2 separate regions of the Homo sapiens genome follow, and region 2 is linked to region 1. The links are contacts of gene promoters, found by promoter capture Hi-C in human tissues and cell types (Jung and others, 2019). All regions are on one chromosome and are shown on one strand. The core of a region is centred on a gene start or on the middle of the fragment in contact, and the rest is flanking DNA. Distances in the headings are between cores, read along the strand shown. Region 1 holds the start of DNAH10OS (dynein axonemal heavy chain 10 opposite strand). Region 2 overlaps DNAH10 (dynein axonemal heavy chain 10).

The links. The method cuts DNA at HindIII sites, captures the fragments that hold promoters and counts their contacts. A contact is called where the count stands out against the background at its distance.
Region 2: a contact is called between a fragment that was not itself captured here and the fragment with the promoter of DNAH10OS in region 1, in 2 of the 25 tissues and cell types used here (lymphoblastoid cells and mesenchymal stem cells).

The regions. Positions count from the first base shown.
Region 1 is chr12:123,933,657-123,936,609 of GRCh38, reverse strand. DNAH10OS (dynein axonemal heavy chain 10 opposite strand) reads left to right here and starts at 1,626. Exons shown (of 2, transcript NR_187476.1): 1 at 1,626-2,545. DNAH10 (dynein axonemal heavy chain 10) reads right to left here. Exons shown (of 79, transcript NM_001372106.1): 78 at 1,844-1,989; 79 at 896-1,275. The coding sequence ends at 1,129. CCDC92 (coiled-coil domain containing 92) reads left to right here. Exons shown (of 5, transcript NM_025140.3): 5 at 1-984. The HindIII fragment of the contact is 2,982 bases long and covers 1-2,670 here.
Region 2 is chr12:123,820,986-123,823,938 of GRCh38, reverse strand. The region is part of intron 24 of DNAH10 (dynein axonemal heavy chain 10); the gene reads right to left. Among named protein-coding and RNA genes, the nearest start is that of DNAH10, 60 kb to the right of the region's middle. The HindIII fragment of the contact is 5,209 bases long and covers 1-2,953 here.

The sequences.
Region 1 (2,953 bases), core at 377-2,876:
CCTCCTGGAGACCCCTGTCACCTCCTGACCAACCTTTCCCAGGGCGGCACCGATCACCGAGCAGCCGTGCGTGTATCTCAAGGAACTAAATAAGATGACGCTACTCCTCATAGCACCACAACCTGAATGTGTGTTCATATTTTTTTGTTAGTTTTATCCAAAATGTTTAAGATCCCAACAAACTTTATTTTCTAAACCTGCCTTCCTTCTGTTTTGTGTCTTTTATTAAACAAACACCTGAAGGAGGGCTAGGAGACTGCAGGAGGGAGAGCAATCACAGGTCCCAGAAGCGACTCCGGCCTCCTCCCGGCCCAGAGCTAGTCCTTAGAATGTGCTGCGCTCCTGAGCTTCTGTGGGAAGCTGCTTTTGCCTCTGATGGCCCCTGCCCACTGTGCTGCCCGTGCTAGCCCCTCTCCTCCCTCATGGAGTGAAGCCACCCCTCACCTCCAGGTGGCCAGCCAGGGCTCCAGGCCAGCCTCATGGTGCACAGAGGGAAGGGGTGCCCAGTGACCACTGGTCCTGGAGGTTCTGTGTCCTTACCTGACCCCACACAGACCCAGGCAGGCTGGGGGTAGAAGCTCATGCAGGAACTAAACACTAAGCTCAACAACTTCACAGTCGCCGTAGCAGGTCAGAGCCAAAGAAGCTAGGGCCAGAGAGTTCTGGAAGGGGGAGAAGTGGCTCCAGGTGACTGGTCACTTCTGCTCTGTGCCCGACATCATCAGCCCTTCTTGCCAAAAAGGAGCATCTGCTGAAACAGACCTGGATCATCGAAAACACACCTTTGGAAATTACATTAGGATTCTCACTTGTGCCAATGCTATGTATGCCAGGCACTTTTGCCTAATCAAGTGTTTTCTCTGAGAAGGAAAAGAAAACTCCACACATCTTAAAATACTCTCCAATATTTACTTTTTGATTATATAAATTCCTTTTAAAAAGTAGTATTAAAAACAAAACCATTCAGGTTAATTTGTATGGAAAGAGATTTAAGTGGCTGATTTCAAATGAAAAATCAGTGTCAGTCCCCCTCCTGCCTCTTGAGAGGCCCCAAGAAATGACAGCAGACCCGATCACTCTGACAACCCCAGGCTCCGAATTCATTAAGCAGTTTTCTTCACCCAAAGGTTAATCAGAATTCAGGGTGAGGCATACTCCTTGCAGCACCCAGTGAGAAATGTGCCTCGTGGTAAAGAGATCAGCTTCAAAAACCAAGCCGACTCCCATGGCGTTCCTTCTCATGGAGGTGGTGTAGACGGGGGTCCGGAAAGTATTCTGCAAGGGAAAGGCAGGTGAGATGCCCCCACGGAGAGAGGGTGCAGAGGGATAAAGGCAGAGGTGCAGTGTAAGTCTTGACAGGCAGGGGCCCCTGTGCAAGACTGCACCTGAGAACACGCACAAGGCTGGGGCTGCTCAGGGCCACCCTCCGCCAGCTTCACGGGGACCTGGCTTCACACTGACACCCTGGTTAAAAGTGGGTCCTGGCCCAGGCAGAGCAGAAGACATCTGCTGTCCACACCAGCGGGAACCACTTTATGACTCAGGCAATGTCTGCAGCATTTTGCAAGAAGGGAGGGAGTCTCCCCTTGGTTAGTCTAGACCACAGGATCACAGCTTGAGCCTGACACCTCTGGAAGGACCGGCATCCACACACACATACAGCCGCGCCTTTTCCAGGAAGCAGCTATCCGTAGCTTTTATCACGGCTCCAAGACTCTCCCCAGCCCATAAAGCTTAGGCACCCCTGTTTTAAAAAGTAGGACTGTTGGAAACCACCTCAGCCATAACTACAGTCAGAAGAGGAAGGGCCCTGGTGTCAGAGAGGAGGGGCTGGGACCTTCACCTGCAGCTTGAGGCGATGGGCTTCAATGGGGATGATCTTCAGGATCGGCAGGTCCACAACCAGCACCTTGGGTTTGCTCTTGATAAGACATCCTTTTTCTATATCCCAGTCAGCACCTTCCAGGTACAGTCCTGAGACAAAGCATCCTAGGGACACAAGGCAGAGACTGGATACAACTGGAGCATGCACAGCCTGCCACGGAGTGGCTCTATCAGGCGCACACACAGCGACACACAGGCCACTGGCTGGCCTCCTCCCCAGCGCATTGGGGACAGCCCAGGCCCTTCTCCAGCATTTCTGTCCTGCCCACCTTCCCTCTGTGGAGGAGCAGCCCAGACAGGAGACCCTGTGGCCCTGCCCCATGGCCCAGAGAAATGGGTGTGGGGCGGTGGCCTCTCCCCCAGGAATCCTCATTCCTGGGGCATCAAGGCCCACGGACTTAGACCACCCTGGGCCCCCAGGCTAGAAAGATGCATGGTCCCAGAGTCAGAATGGGCACCATGGCAACCCCAGCTACCCTGTGAGCCGAAGTGGCTGGGGAGCAGGAAGTCGAAGCCTCACAGAGAAAGTGGTCTCCGGGGAGGAGGACCCAGCAGATGTGCAAAGAGAGGAACACACTCCTGTGGCCCCAGAGAGAGTGGTGGCCCGGACACCTGCCACCTCCCCTGCCACTGAGACCTGGAGAGTCCCTGCATCTTTACCGTAAGTCCCCAGTCCTTAAGCCATCTCAAAAGAGCTTTTGTTCCTTGCAGTTAAAAGAACTCTAAGACAACATGGACCCGGGGAAACAGCAGTTTCCAGCTCTCATTTGCACAGTCAGTAACCAATGTCTAAGGGACCTGAAGTTCTGGCATAATCAAAGAGTTCCAACCAAGTTAGTCCATGCTGCTCTGTGGCTCCCATGCCCCTGGCCCCGTCAGGGGTTACAAGAAAGCCACCTGATGGTTTTTGCAAGAGCTAATTCTGACCTAGGAGCCCACTTGCCATGAGCTAGCAGAGTGAACATGGTTCAGGTCTCCCCTGCCATAGACCCCAGGTCTCAACGGAGAAAGTGGAAGAGAAACTTCCGTATCCACCCTCAGAGGTGTTAAGACATGGGCAGTGCAGAGA
Region 2 (2,953 bases), core at 183-2,682, 110 kb after region 1:
AGACCAGAGTAGGCTGGGGGGACCAAGCTATGTCTCAATATTGGATTTTTAAAAATGCTTATTTTGCTACAGAAAAAAAAACCAGAAAGAATGAATAAGACCTAGTATTTGATAGCATGGCAGGGTGACTATAGTCAATAAAAATTGTATATTTTTAAATAACTAAAGGAGCATAATTGGATTGTTTGTAACACAAAGGATAAAAGCTTGAGGGGATGGACATCCCATTCCCCGTGATGTGATTATTACACATTGCATGCCCGTGTCAAAACATCTATGTATCCCATATAGACACCTACTATGAACCCAGAAAAATTAAACATTTTAAAACCACTTATTTTGACATGTGTGTGGTTGTTCTCAGTTCTCATGATACCTTTCCTTTTAAAAGCTGACGGTATGTTTTTAACTTTATGAATTTTTTGCCTGGTGCAGGCACCAGGTCTCATCACTTTCCACCCCATCTCTGGAATCTTCTCTCCTCTCTATTCCCTCTATAATTGTCCTAAAATGCAAGCTCCCATCCCTTCTGCCAGCACTGGGGCAGTGACCTCCTAAAGGACCCCCTGCCTGCAATCCCCCGGCTGCCTCCGGAGTCCCTTCTCACGGCTTCATCTCCACCGGCCGCTTCGCACATCCCAACCCCATTTCCTGGTGCATCCATGGTTGGTAAAGCCACCAGTCTGGATGAAAGGTTATGGACACAAGACACAACTTCAAATCTCCTGTCTCTGCTCCTGCCCAGCGCTCTGCCTGGAAAGCCTTGTTCTGCACCAGGCAAAAGCCTGCTCTGGTTCTGAGCCTCACTCCCAGGCCACCTCCTCAGCAGCATTCCCTGGGCCAGTGGGCCACTCTCCTTCCTCCTCTGCAAGCTCAGGACTCTGTCCACCTCATTTCCAGCACATATCTTGGGGGCGTGGTTATTTGTTCACATATCGGTGCAAAGGTGAATCCTGTGTGTCAAGTGGACGCTGGTGTTTTGTGAGAGATACTGAGTGAGATGAGCGTTTGCATTGGGGGACTGAGTAAAGCAGGTGGCCCTCCCCAACATGGATGGCCTCACTCAATCCACTGCAGGCCTGAATCGAACAAAAGGCTGAGGAAGGTGGAATGCAACCTCTGTGCCTGACTGTCTTCAAGCTGGGACGTCAGTGTTCTCCCGCATTCGGACTTGGACTCAGACTAGAATCTATACCATCAGCTCTCCAGGGTCTCTAGCTTGCCAACTGCAGACCATGGGATTTCTCAGCCTCCATAATCACAGGAGCCAATTCCTCATCACAAATCTCATAGATATAGGTATAGATTAGACACAGATATATAGATATACATTAGATATAGATTAGAAATAGATATGTAGATTAGATACAGATAGATATAGATTAGATAATGTAATACAGATGTAGATTAGATATAGATACAGGTATAGATACAGGTTATAGATACAGATTAGATATAGACAGATATAGATATAGATACACATATCTCCTATTGATTCTGTTTCTCAAGAACCCAGACTAACATAGTCAGTCTCCCTTGGGGACTCAAGAAGGGCAGGAACGGGCAAACATGACTCCTTTTCTGGACCCCACACTCCAACCAGCACAGCACTGAGCTATAAAGAACTAAGTCAATAGATAAATGAATGAATAGCATGAATTTGCATGGGAAACATACCAATGAGAGGCACCCAAATGACATGACATTTGCAACTTTTTTATTTTTATTTTTTGAGACAGAGTCTCACTCTGTCACCCAGGCTGGAGTGCAGTGGCGCAATCTCAGCTCACCGCAACCTCCACCTCCTGGGTTCAAGCGATTCTTGTGCCTTAGCCTCCCAAGCAGCTGGGATCACAGGCATGTGCCACCATATCTGGCTAAGTTTTGTATTTCTTAGTAGAAATGGAGTTTTGCCATGTTGGCCAGGCTAGTCTCGAACTCCTGGCCTCAAGTGATCCACCCGCCTTGCCTCCCAAAGTGCTGGGATTACAGGTGTGAGCCACTGTGCCCGGAACTTTTTTTTGTATTTTTTAGTAGAAACGGGGTTTCGCCTTGTTGCCCAGGCTAGTCTCGAACTCCTGGCCTCAAGTAATCTGCCCATCTCAGCCTCCCAAAGTGCTGGGATTACAAGCATGAGCCACCACACCAGGCTGACACGGCAACTTTTAATCTCCGCTTGCAACTAAACAGTTTACCCCATGCCTTAACCAAGCCCTTGACCTCCAAAGAGAGTTCTTTTCTATGATGACAGTAAAATACATAAAAAAAAAATTGTCATTTTAATCATTTTAAAATATGTAATTCCAGGCTGGGTGCAATGGCTCATGCCTGTAATCCCAGCACTTTGGGAGGTCAAGGCAGGAGGATCGCTTGAGATCAGGAGTTCCAGACCAGCCTGGGTAACACAGTGAGACATTGCCTCTACTAAAACTAAAAAAAGAATAGCTGGGCATGGTGGTGCACCTCTGTAGTCCCAACTGCTTTGCAGGCTGAGGCAGAAGGATCACTTCGACCCAGGACTTCGAGGCTGCAGTGAGTTATTATCACACCACTGCACCCCAGCTTGGGTGTTAGAGCGAGACTTTGTCTCAAAAATAAAAATAAAATGTACAATTCCGTGGCATCAAGTACTTTCACAATGTCACACAGCCAGCGCCACTATCTATTTCCAGAACTTTTTTTTTTTTTGAGATGGAGTTTCGCTCTTGTCGCCCAGGCTGGAGTGCAATGGCGCAATCTGGACTCACTGCAACCTCCACCTCCCAGGTTCAAGTGATTCTCCTGCCTCAGCCTCCTGAGTAGCTGGGATTACAGGCACCTGCCACTATACCTGGCTGACTTTTGGATTTTTAGTAGAGACAGGGTTTCACCACGTTGGCCAGACTGACCTCGAACTCCTGACCGCAGGTGATGCACCCGCCTTGGCCTCCCAAAGTGCTGGGATTACAGGCGT